2 separate regions of the Homo sapiens genome follow, and region 1 is linked to region 2. The links are contacts of gene promoters, found by promoter capture Hi-C in blood cells and fetal thymus (Javierre and others, 2016). All regions are on one chromosome and are shown on one strand. The core of a region is centred on a gene start or on the middle of the fragment in contact, and the rest is flanking DNA. Distances in the headings are between cores, read along the strand shown.

What was found. The method cuts DNA at HindIII sites, captures the fragments that hold promoters and counts their contacts. A CHiCAGO score of 5 or more calls a contact.
Region 1: a contact is called between a fragment that was not itself captured here and the fragment with the promoter of CHMP4A in region 2, in 1 of 17 cell types (non-activated CD4 T cells). The highest score is 5.0, in non-activated CD4 T cells.

What each region holds. Positions count from the first base shown.
Region 1 is chr14:23,087,670-23,094,134 of GRCh38, reverse strand. It overlaps ACIN1 (apoptotic chromatin condensation inducer 1), which reads left to right. Exons shown (of 19, transcript NM_001386863.1): 2 at 591-656; 3 at 3,502-3,613; 4 at 4,034-4,153. Among named protein-coding and RNA genes, the nearest start is that of ACIN1, 4.2 kb to the left of the region's middle. The HindIII fragment of the contact is 2,299 bases long and covers 1,740-4,038 here.
Region 2 is chr14:24,210,443-24,216,634 of GRCh38, reverse strand. CHMP4A (charged multivesicular body protein 4A) reads left to right here and starts at 3,147. Exons shown (of 6, transcript NM_014169.5): 1 at 3,147-3,226; 2 at 4,806-4,955; 3 at 5,043-5,220; 4 at 5,867-5,981; 5 at 6,152-6,192. The coding sequence starts at 3,196. NEDD8-MDP1 (NEDD8-MDP1 readthrough) reads left to right here. Exons shown (of 7, transcript NM_001199823.3): 4 at 973-1,083; 5 at 2,036-2,143; 6 at 2,240-2,325; 7 at 2,484-2,692. The coding sequence ends at 2,611. It overlaps MDP1 (magnesium dependent phosphatase 1), which reads left to right and starts at 569. Exons shown (of 6, transcript NM_138476.4): 1 at 569-716; 2 at 838-898; 3 at 973-1,083; 4 at 2,036-2,143; 5 at 2,240-2,325; 6 at 2,484-2,692. The coding sequence starts at 680. The coding sequence ends at 2,611. RefSeq lists enhancers at 523-692, 2,998-3,292, 2,929-3,428, 2,856-3,664, 3,619-3,738 and 1 more. The HindIII fragment of the contact is 5,751 bases long and covers 2,455-6,192 here.

The DNA of each region.
Region 1 (6,465 bases), core at 1,640-4,139, 1.1 Mb after region 2:
TGTGTGTGTTTGTGTGTGTGTGTTTGTGTGGATAGACTAGGTTAGACCACAGTTTACAGGGTCTGTGGTCATTTTCTTCTGTAGCTTCCTCTTTGAAAATTTTATAAATTTGATAAATCTAGGTGCCACAGTACTGGAAATTATACAAATTGACCCTGGTACTGGGTAACCCTTTGACCAAGTAATTCCGTCAGGCAAAAACCAGGAGCCCCATGGCTGGTTTGAGTATTTTAAGTAATTTTACATGCATGATCAGATTTAGAAGGGGCACTTGGCGAAAGTGCAGAAGATAATAGGGATTTTAGTACTGGTTCTATTACTGATATTATGACATAGCCAGGTCACTGATTCTGTGTGCCTGCATTTTATATCTGTACATTTAGTAACAGTAACCATGGCTACCTTTATGGGTCTTCTGAAGATGAATGAGAACAGTGTTAGTAAAGGGTTTTCAGGTCCCTGGAAAAGGAATACAGTTTAATTGTGTGTATTTAAGTCATTGCGTTTAATTTAGAGGTTGTGGTAGAGGTGGGGGTTTGTTTTTCTTTTTTTTCCTCATCATTTCTGACTTTTACCCTTCTCTATACCAGGCTCTAATGCTAGAAAATTTACAGAAACACTCAACACCCCATGCTGCATTCCAGCCAAATTCCCAGGTGAGAAAGAAGGTGTATTCAATGGAGTGGGCCCTTTGGATATCCAGACACATGGAAGGACGTGGTGTTGTATATTTGATGCTTAAGTCCTCATGACTGTTTTCCTAAGTTCTCTTAGTCAGAAATGTTCTCAAACCAGGACAGTTGAATTCTAATCAACCCAGTTGTATACAAGGGCCTGGAGTAAAGAACAGAATCAGAGGCACTGTTAGTTTATAATAATTGAAATGGCATGTGTAGAAAGGTGTGGCTTCCATTAATTACGTGTAGTACAGAGATCTGAAGTCATTTATCTGCCATGAATTTAGGAAAGGTAGTTGATGTCTTTGAGTATAGATATGAAGTAGATCACCAATATGGCAGTGTAGGGAAATAGTTGCTGATTAAGAACTCTTGTTGATGTAGATTTTCCAAGGGTTCAATCCTGTGTAAGTCACCCACCATTACTAGTGTTAACTACTAACTCAGTGCACTTACTCATAAACATTACTAATACCTCTTTACTTAGGATAAGAAACAACCTTTGGAGGCCTTGGTCTTCTCCATTTCCTTATCTGTAATATGAGAAACAGACTAAACCCATGGGTTTATAACTGTTCTCTTAGGGTTTTGTGGAGCTGCTTTGGGGAGCTTCCTAGGGGAAATACCTTTTTCCCAAGTAAGCAAGGCTCATACTCCTCTCTTAAACTAGATTAGATCTACTTTTTAACTATTGAGTTTCTGCATAAAATTTTTAAATTATTCCACAGTTAAAATCCAAAAATTATTAGGCTGCACAGTCTCTTAAAGTTTCTTTCAGCTTTTAAAAATCCCCTCATTATAATGTGTCATATACTTAAAGGAAAAATCCAAGTCTTTGTTAAAGCAATAGTGTGCAGCCTCAGTACTAGATGAAGTCTCAGGATACTGTGGAAAACAAGAGAGCCCTCCTCCTCCTTTGTTATCACCTCATTAAGCTGTAAGTATCATAATCTAGCCAGCATTCAGAGGTTCAATTAAGTACTTTAACAAGCATAAGAAACTGCATAAGTTAATCAGCTTAATTGTATTCCTTTTGCCCATTGCATGTTAGTCTTTGAAGCTTTGCTTTTATTAACACCGGGTTTGTGCAGCAAACATGCCTATTCTGTAATACACATGCAACCCACCCTTCAACAATGTCCATTGAGTGCCAAGAGACTCATTTCTACTTTAGGTGAAAATAAACCTTTACTATGTTTAGGAAACATGACTAATAACATAGAAAGTATTCAGGTTTTTTTGCTTTTTCAGTTCTAAATAGGACTTGCTAAGCAAGAAGGTTCTAGGGAGGAGAACTTGTGAAGAGAAAGCTGGAGGTCAGAAGGGCAACTTGGGAATCTGTATTACAAAAAAAAAAAAATAGGAAAAGGCATAAGCTCCTGTTACCAAGGATTTCCTTTCACCCAGACAAAATGGAGTTATAACTTTGTCTAAATGCTGAATGGATATCCCTTTTCTTAGTCTCTTGATTTCATACTTTTAAATACTATACTTGAATTTTGGAGTTGTTTGATAAAATGTTTCCTGGATATGAGGCCGGGCATTGTGGCTCACGCCTGTAATGCTAGCACTTTGGGAGGCCAAGGCGGGTAGATCACCTGAGGTCAGGAGTTTGAGACCAGCCTGGCCAACATGGCAAAACCCCGTCTATACTAAAAATGCAAAAATGAGCTGGTTGTGGTGGCACATGTCTGTAATCCCAGCTACTCAGGAGACTGAGGCAGGAGAATGTCTTGAACCCAGGAGGCGGAGGTTGCAGCAAGCCAAGATCGCGCCATTGCTCTCCAGCCTGGATGACAGTGATAGTCCGTCTCAAAAAAAAAAAAAAAAATGTTTCCTGGATAGGTAACGGTTGATCTTTTGGAGGAACTGGCTTTTTTTTTTTTTTTTCTTGAGATGGAGTCTTGCTCTTTAACCCAGGCTGGAGTGCAGTGGCACGATCTCAGTTCACTGCACCCACCACCTCCTGAGTAGCCAGGATGACAGACTCACACCACAATATGCCCACCTTTTTGTATTTTTGGTAGAGACGGGTTTTGCCATGTTGCTGAGACTGATCTTGAACTCCTGAGCTCAAGCAGTCTTCCCACTTCAGCCTCCCAAAGTACTGGGATTACAGACGTGAGCCCCCATGTTTCAGTCTTGATACTACCAAAAGGAAATTTTAGATTACCCTTTAGATAATGTTCCACGTAATCTAGGAATTTAGCCTAAAAGATATAATTACAGGAATTTTAATTTAAGGTTATTTGTGGCTGGGCACGGTGGCTCACACTTGTAATCCCAGCACTTTGGGAGGCTGAGGCGGGTGGATCACTTGAGGTCAGGAGTTTGAGACCCGTCTGACCAACATAGTGAAACCCCGTCTCTACTAAAAATACAAAAATCAGCCGAGTGTGGTGGTGCACACCTGTAATCCCAGCTACTCAGGAGGCTGAGGCAGGAGAATCATTTGAAGCCAGGAGGCAGAGGTTGCAGTGAGGGAAGATCACGCCACTGCACTCCAGCCTGGGCAACAGAGTGAAACTCTGTCTCAAAAAATAAAAATAAAGAATAGTAATTTGTATACCAGTATCACTCTTTGGGAACTGAATATTTAAATCAAAAACTTATGTGCAGCTCTTCTTTTTGCCCTTTTTTTGTGTGTGACTCAAGGCTATTCTGTTCTTCAATATAGAACTAACTTAGAAAAAAGCCTTCCAACATTTTAGTTATCTTTCTTGGGCGCAACTATAAGGAGTGGACCTTTGCTCCATGGAATGTTCTTCTTTGCATTCTCCTGGTTTGTTTTCCTAGACCCTCTGTTTTCATTTCCTCTACACAGATTGGTGAGGAAATGAGCCAGAACAGTTTCATAAAACAGTATCTGGAAAAGCAGCAGGAGCTACTTAGGCAGCGTCTGGAACGTGAAGCTCGAGAAGCTGCAGAACTTGAAGGTAAGCCCAGATTGTCACTTTTAACAAGGAGTTCGTCATTCTTATCCCTGTCACCAAGTAGATAGGCCTGTCTAACTAGACAATTTCAGAAATAAGTGAGGCTGAGACTGCTACTTACTTGCTTTCATAGCCCATGAAGCCAAGTGGTTTACTATTTACTTTTGTCAGGGAAGAGGACACTTAATTTGACTGTCTTGTTAGAAGAGGATTCCTGCCAACAGGAAGAGTTATAAGTAAATTAAGCTACCATTTAGATGAAGTAGAGCTGAATCCCAGGGAGTTTTTTCTTTTTATACGGTGCTCTTTTTGGTATGTATCTCTGTATCTGTGACTTTGCCTGACCTCCTTCACTCCTCTACATATTCCTACATGCTGAGTCCTTCACTCCCTCCCTGCCCCGACCCGATCTGTACTTTGCAGAAGCTTCAGCTGAGTCGGAGGACGAGATGATCCATCCTGAGGGAGTGGCTTCCCTGCTGCCTCCTGACTTTCAGAGCAGCCTGGAGAGACCAGAGCTGGAGCTCAGCAGACATTCGCCCAGTACGTATCTCCCTCCCCACTGCGCTGTTTTGTCAATCCTGCGTAGTTGGTGGGGGGAGGTAGTTACACCTCCTTTCATGCTAAGCCTCCATGAAAGTCCCAGGGAAATTCTGTGACATTGATATTTGACATCTGTTTCTCATGGAAAGTATACCCTTTTTGAAGTCTGCTTTCACCTATATATTGTGTTACCTTCTCAGTGTTTTACGAAGCAGTGTGATTTTTCTTCTCATCTGTACCTCTTCAACTCTTCTACCTCTGAATTTGGCAACAGTCAGCTCTTTTTCATCTCTTCACCAGTTGTGTATATTACGTGTTAACACATTCAGTCACCCTCTGGAGTTGGGTATCTGCTGTGGTTTAATCAACAAATTTTTATTGTGTACTTGTTGTATACCAGGCACATGCTAGGCACGAGGAATATAGTAAAGAAAGAAACAAGTCTCAGCCCCAAGAAACTTAGTCTAGTGAGGACATGGACATTAGTTACAGTTGTTTTGGCTACTGTGCAAGGCAACGCAGAGTATTATGTGAGCATATTATAGTAGGGAGCTCTAACCTAGTATATGGGATTGGTTCAGGCAAGATTAATTAATTTCTTCACATTATAGAAAATATTAAGCACCCAGACTGGGTGTGGTCGCTCACGCCTCTAATCCCAGCACTTTGGGAGGCTGAGGCAGGAGGATCACCTGAGGTCAGGAGTTCCAGACCAGCCTGGAAAAACCGTGAAAAAGCCATGGCAAAACCCTGTCTCTACTAAAAATATAAAAATTAGCTGGGTATGGTGGCAGGCACCTGTAATCCCAGTGACTCGGGAGGCTAAGGCAGGAGAATCGCTTGAACCCGGGAGGCAGAGGTTGCAGTGAGCCAAGATTGCACCATTGCACTTCAGCCTGGACAATAGAGCGAGACTGTGTCTCAAAAAATACATAAAATCATAATAGGCACCCAATTTTGCATAATATCTCAAGCAAAAGTCTATAAATATAGCCTTTGTCTTTTGGGAACTACCTGTCTAAGTCAGTATACTTTGAGGAAAATATGTGCAGGTTGAGCATGCCTAATCCAAAGACCCAAAACTTTTTGAGTATTCACATGACACTCAAAGGAAATGCTCATCAGAGCATTTCAGATTTTGGGTTTTCAGATTAGGGATGCTGAATCAGAAAGTATAATGCAAATATTCAAAAATCCAAAATCTAAAACACTTGTGATCCCAAGCATTTTGGAAAAGGGATACTTAATATGTATATAAGACATGTGGATTGTTAGTACATATGTTAAACCAATGTGTAACTTAACAAGTATTTTGAATAATTAGTGTTGAGGGGGATGCGGAATCCACCATAATCAGTGTTTTTAGGATGTATGGAGGTTTCCAGCTCTTCTGATTAATACAGAATTCCTTCATGGACTACACTTGATTTTAGTTAAAAGGCTGAGCAGCGATAGACTCTTCATGGAAATAGATTTTTTAGGAGACATTTAATGGTGGGAAAGAAATTTTCCAAAAGGCTAGAGAAAATAGAGAGCCTTTGAGTCTAGTTTTAAGGTCCTGTTTTACTCAGTCCCTGTTTTTCTTGATCCTAGTCTTAGACCCAGAAAGACATTTCTAGAAATCTTTTAGTAAGAAAATACTGGCCAATACTTTGGAATTATTAAGTTCCTTAGGGACCTCTTTTCTCCTGAAATACGAGAGTAGTAGACCCTCAGCTGATCCACTTTGCTCCCTGCGCCCTTTCCCCCTTGATTTTAAAGCCGAGAGGAAAGAGAAAGCTCTTCTAAAATTGTCGGTATTTCTTCTCACATAAAACAAAAAAAAATTTATTGAATTCCTACTGCATACATATCTCTGTGAGAGTATATTGGGAGTTAGCACAGCATAAAGTCTGTTAGGAAGAGAGAACAATTACACATAAATCGAACAACAGAAGATAGTATGTGACAATGATACAGACATAGGGAACCAAAAGAGTGGAAGAGCTCTGAGGACTACAGTGATTAGAGAAAGCCTCATAAGGAGATACAGGATTTGAGCTGAGCCTTAGAAATGGTTTGGCAGAGAGGATACAAGAAGATATTTTTAGGAAGGAACAAAGTCAGAGAGATAGGAATGAAAATGGTATTTTTAAAGGAGAGGTAGTAGACTAATCTAGCCAGAGTAGAGTATTTCACATTCAAGAATAGTCAGCAAAACAATTTAAAAGGTAGATGAGGGTGATACACAGAGGGCTTTAAATGCCAGGCCAGTAAGTATGAGGGTTTTTTTTTTAGTTCTATAGGTAATGGGGGAACCATTGAAAATTCTT
Region 2 (6,192 bases), core at 1,898-4,397:
TAGCTTGAAATTGGCCATGGTAGGATTATTTACAGAAACTAGCAAACACTACAGATCAGTTCCTCCCCACAAACTGGTTGTTATACATCTACCAGTGTAGTGCTGACATGGATGGTGAAACCTTCGGAGAGTGAATTCTCTCTTGACTGTGGCTGTACTGGACATTTAGGCCTGGTTGGAGAACGCCTTCAAGGGTTTGGCTGACACTGTACTCTATGGCTGGAATATTACTGAGGACTTTGGGTTCTACACTGTCAGGAGGTTGATAATGCAGAAAGATTGAGTGACAAGCTGTGATGTATCACTTGGGTCTCAAGAAGAGGCAGGTGCTAGAAGAAAAGGCTTTCCTTCTTCCCTGGCTTCTTAGTATAATAGAATCGGGCAAGGCTGGGTGGAGTGGAGAAGTAGGGAGGATGCCCGTGGCCAATGCCTTAGAAAGACTTGACTGCTGTGGTTGCATGTGTGGTCGTGTTGGTACCTCGCTGCAATCCTCTTCCCCGCCCAGCATCAGATGGCACTCTTGCGCCATCTCCAGGCTGATGACGCCCCGAGTGGCGACGCTCTAGTCGCCATTTGTCTATGGCAGGCAGGGTGGCTGCCTTAGCTGCCGGAGGTTCCGCACTCTCTAAGGCCCCGGGTGAAGCCCCACCTCTGCTGCGCGCAGCCTGCGGTGCGGGTCATGGCGCGGCTACCGAAGCTGGCAGTCTTTGATTTGGGTGAGGGACGGGAAGGGGAGAATTTCGTAAGGTGCTCTCCTTTTCCACATCCCTAACAGCAGCTCCCGAATCCCTGCATCTCCCGCCCCAGGCTGAACCTTCCCTCTCCTTCCTCTCGCAGATTACACTCTCTGGCCTTTCTGGGTCGACACGCACGTAGACCCTCCGTTCCATAAGAGCAGGTGAGGTAGGGACAGGGAAGACTGGGGGCGAGATAGGACCCAGCCAGGGCTGAGCGCACTCTTGCCCTCTCCAGTGATGGAACTGTACGAGATAGGCGGGGCCAAGACGTCCGACTGTACCCAGAGGTGCCTGAGGTCCTAAAACGATTGCAGAGCCTTGGGGTGCCCGGTGCGGCTGCTTCAAGGTAAGAAGAGCGACTGACAACTGACAGTGTAATGCTGAAGGGTGCATGCAAGAGACAGTGAAACCCCTGGTCTACAAAAATAGGGGCGGTGCAAGTTTCCAAGTATTTACATATTTTTTCCCTTGAACGCTCTCCTGTGCCTTTTAACTATTAAAAAGTGGGGCCAGCAGGCGGGCGCGGTGGCTCACGTCTGTAATCCCAGCACTTTGGGAGGCCGAGGCGGGTGGATCACGAGATCGGGAGTTCAAGACCAGCCTGATCAACATGGTGAAACCCCGTCTCTACTAAAAATACAAAAATTAGCAGGGCGTGGTGGCACGCACCTGTAATCCTAGCTACTCGGGAGGCTGAGGCAGGAGAATCGCTTGAACCCGGGAGGCGGAGGTTGCAGTGAGCTGAGATGGAGCCACTGCACTTCAGCCTGGGTGACAGAGTGAGACAATGTCTCAAAAAAAAAAAAAAAAAAAAAAGTGGGGCCAGACACAGTGACTCACACCTGTAATCTTAGCATTTTGGGAGGCCTAGGTGGGAGGATCACTTGAGCCCAGGAATTTGAGACCAGCCTAGGCAATAGAGGGAGACCCTATCTCTACCAAAAAAAAAAAAAAAATTGTAGTGGCGTGCACCTGTAGTCCCAGCTACTTGGGAGGCTGAGGTGGGAGGATCACTTGAGCCCAGGAGGTCGTGACCACAGTGAGCCGTGATTGGGTCGCTGCACTCCAGTCTGGGCAACAGAGCTAGACCCTGTCTCAAAACAAAAGCTAAAACATTGGCCCAGCACCAATTGTGTCAAATAGGAAGGCAATGGAGTTAAACAGAGGCTGAGGATGCCTGTCCATCCCGGAAAAACAGCAAGTTGATTTCCCTGGTTATACTTACTAACTTTGCTTAATAAGTTAACGTAGCCCTGGCCCTTCACTTTGCTAATCCCATCTTTTACACCGTTTTGCAGGACAAGTGAGATAGAAGGGGCCAACCAGCTACTGGAGCTCTTTGACCTCTTCAGGTACTTTGTTCATCGGGAAATCTATCCAGGCAGCAAGATCACACACTTTGAGAGGTATGCGGAGATAAGGGAGGAGCAGGGTGAGAAAGTATCAGAGAGGCCTGGGAAACCAAGATACTAGCTTGGTTACTCCTGCCCTGTCTTGAATAGGTTGCAGCAGAAGACTGGAATTCCTTTCTCCCAGATGATCTTCTTTGATGATGAGAGGCGGAATATTGTAGACGTCAGCAAACTGGGTACTGAGTGATGAGGAACAGCCATTTGGGGTCCCTAGGAGGGATTAGGTAGATACATACAGGTTGGATAGTTTGCCCTATAGGTGGCACTCACAAAGGTCAGAGTAATAATGGAGAACCCTGAAAGCTTAATGAAATGTGACTTCTTATCTTTCTAGGTGTTACCTGCATTCACATCCAGAATGGAATGAATCTTCAAACTCTAAGTCAAGGGTTAGAGACATTTGCGAAGGCCCAAACTGGGCCTTTGAGGTCCAGCCTTGAGGAGAGCCCATTTGAGGCCTAAACTGAAAGGAAATCAAGAAGGCATTTTCAGGTGCATTTGTAATTTATTAAAGTTCATCTGTGTGTGACAGAAGAGATTTTACCCACAGTGTGGGGAGTTTCTATTTTTCTAGCCTGTGAAATGGGGTTGGTTGTCCTGAGGTGCAGAGACCAGAATGTGAGACATTAGACTGCATCAGGTTTGCCATCTAAACTTAGGGCAACCCCAAGTGCTTGAACCTATACCACCCCACTTTCCTGAGCTCTGTAAAGAGCATGAAGTTTTCCCACTGACCCCATACACTGAGGTGCCATCACACTGCACATTTCCTTCCGGAGAACAAGCACGTACTCAGGTGGAGATAGAACTGTCTTTTTACTTAATAGAAAATGATGTGGCAGCTTTAAGAGGAGCGCGTCGGTCTGGGGCTGGTGGCTTGGGTCACGTGACACCGGTGGTCTCGTTTGCGCCTCTTGATGTCGCGGCGGCGCCCTGAGGACGGATTGGGCAAGGCTGGTCCCTGTGTGATGAGACATCACCCTCCCAGGAGCAAGGCGGAAGTCTGGAGGACGCTGAGGGGCGGAGGCGGGAGAGGCGAGCTCGCGATGAGTGGTCTCGGCAGGCTCTTCGGGAAGGGTGAGCCAGGGTGGGACTGGCCAGCCAGGAGGCGCTGGCTGGTGCAGGGGAAGAGGAGACCCCGGCGAGATTCGGCCGGACCGCTGCGCCGGGCAGGGGAAGAGAATCAGGAGACAGGCTGACTGGAAAACCCCGGCGGCCGATGGCGGAGCAAGGCTCATCGCCGGTGCCAAAAGGCACACCATGTCGGGGCGCCTTGTTCCCGTCCGCCGTCCTCCCCCACTCTCAGAGGGAAGAACTCAAGATCTGGGAGGGGACTTGAGTTGAGGGCGTGGCGATCGTGCTGACTCCCACTGTTCAGGCTTGAAGACGAGTTTCCTGCTGTCTTCAGCCATTTTCAAAACCTTGTTCTATAATACTTTGTGCTGGGCAAGAGGGATCTAAGGTGAAGAAGAAAGACTGCCTTCTTAGCCCGGCGCGGGGGCTCACGCCTGTACTCGCAACACTTTGGGAGGCCGACGTGGGTGGATCATGAGGTCAGGAGTTTGAGATCAGCCTGGCCAATATGGTGAAACCCCGTCTCTACTAAAAATATAAAAATTGGCCGGGCGCGGTGGCTCACGCCTGTAATCCCAGCACTTTGGGAGGCCGAGGTGGGTGGATCACCTGAGGTCAAGAGTTCGAGACCAGCCTGGACAACATGGTGAAACCTTGTCTCTACTAAAAATACAAAAAAAAAAAAAAAATTAGCTGGTTGTGGTGGCACGCGCCTGTAGTCCCAGCTACTGGGGGAGGCTGAGACAGGTGAATCGCTTGAACCCAGGAGGCGGAGGTTGTAGTGAGCCAAGATTGCACCAATGCACTCCAGCCTTGGTGACAGAGGGAGACTCCATTCTCAAAAAAAAAAAAAAAAATTAGGTGGGCATGATGGTGTGTGCCTGTAGTCCCAGCTACTCAGGGAGGCTGAGGCAGGAGAATCACTTGAACCCGGGAGACGGAGGTTGCAATGAGCTGAGATCATGCCACTGCACTCTGGCCTGGGCAACAGAGCGAGACTCTGTCTCAAAAAAAGAAGTCCTGGCGCGGTGGCTCATGCCTGTAATCAAAACACTTTGGGAGGCCGAGGCGGGCAGATCACCTGAGGTTGGGAGTTCGACACCAGCCTGACCAACATGGAGAAAGCCTGTCTGTACTAAAAACACAAAAAATTAGCCAGGCATGGTGGCACATGCCTGTGATCCCAGCTATTTGGGAGGCTGAGGCAGGAGAATTGCTTGAACCCAGGAGGCGGAGGTTGAGGTGAGCTGAGATCACGCCATTGCGTTCCAGCCTGGGCAACAAGACTGAAACTCTGCCTAAAGAAAAAAAAAGAAAGGCAGCTAGGAATAGTAAAAAGAATATTGGTTTTAGAACTCATACTGCCACATCTTGATTCCTGCACAATCTCTTATTAGTTGTGATTTTTAACATCTTTGTGGTTGTTTTCACATTTTTAAAGTGAAGAGATAGCACGTTCATTGTAGAGATTTGGGGATTAGCAATAACACAGTCAGGTCTCTAGCACATACTATGTATTCAATGATTGGTGGCTAATATTTTTCCTTCACAAAATTTGGGCCTACTCCACTGGACTCCTCAGGGAAGAAGGAGAAAGGGCCAACCCCTGAAGAAGCAATACAGAAACTGAAGGAGACAGAGAAGATACTGATCAAGAAACAGGAATTTTTGGAGCAGAAGATTCAACAGGAGCTACAAACAGCCAAGAAGTATGGGACCAAGAATAAGAGAGGTAATGAGGGAAACAAGCCTATGGGGAGGGCCCAGATGGGAAGCAGGTGCTTCTGACTCTTGATGTTCAGGGTATGGGCTGGGTCAGCTGCCCTACAGGCTTTGCGGAGGAAGAAAAGATTCGAACAGCAGCTGGCACAAACTGACGGGACATTATCCACCCTGGAGTTTCAGCGTGAGGCCATTGAGAATGCCACTACCAATGCAGAAGTCCTTCGTACCATGGAGCTTGCTGCCCAAAGCATGAAGAAGGCCTACCAGGACATGTGGGTACGGGGGGAGGGGTGGAGGGGACCCAGGCACTGGGAAGAGTGGCTTGCTATCACACTTTAAACTTTAAAGCCTCTCAGAATGTGAATTTGCAGTATAGATACTTGTGATGGCTAGACATCCATCTGCCCCTTGCTTCCTATAAAATTCTTTCGCTGCCTGGGGCATTCTAGGGAGGAAAGATGCCTTCTCTAATTCTTTTTTTGTTTTGTTTTGTTTTGTTTTTTGAGATGGAGTCTTGCTCTGTCGCCCAGGCTGGAGTGCAGTGGCACAATCTCGGCTCACTGCAACCTCCGCCTCCTGGGTTCAAGTGATTCTCCTGCCTCAGCCTCCTGAGTAGCTGGGATTACAGGTGTGCACTACTGTGCCCAGCTCATTTTTGTATTTTTAGTAGAGATGGAGTTTTGCCATTTTGGCCAGGCTGGTCTTGAACTCCTGACCTCAGGTGATCCACCTGCCTTGGCCTCCCAAAGTGCTGGGATCACAACTTGCATCTTTGCAATTTTCCAGGGATCTCTTCTGATTGATAGTTATGGGCTTATCAGTGTGACCCTGCAAGGCAGGAGGGGTTTCATTCATGTGAGATGAGAAAGTCAAGGGGGCATTGTTGCGTGATTTCTTAGCTATCTATCTCATTCTCAGGGACATTGACAAGGTAGATGAACTGATGACTGACATCACGGAACAACAGGAGGTGGCCCAGCAGATCTCAGATGCCATTTCTCGGCCTATGGGCTTTGGAGATGATGTGGATGAGGTGATTGGGGGTGAAGGGTCAGGGAATATTGCAGAAAGTATGGGACTGGCCAGAAGGAACACCCAAGAGAGGCTCTTGGGACAAGTTTGGGAGGGAACTTCAAAAGTGGTATGTTTTTGGAGGTAGAAGTTTTTTTCTTCATCTAAAGTGGTCTTGTCTTCCCTATCCAGGATGAACTGCTGGAGGAGCTAGAGGAGCTGGAGCAGGAGGA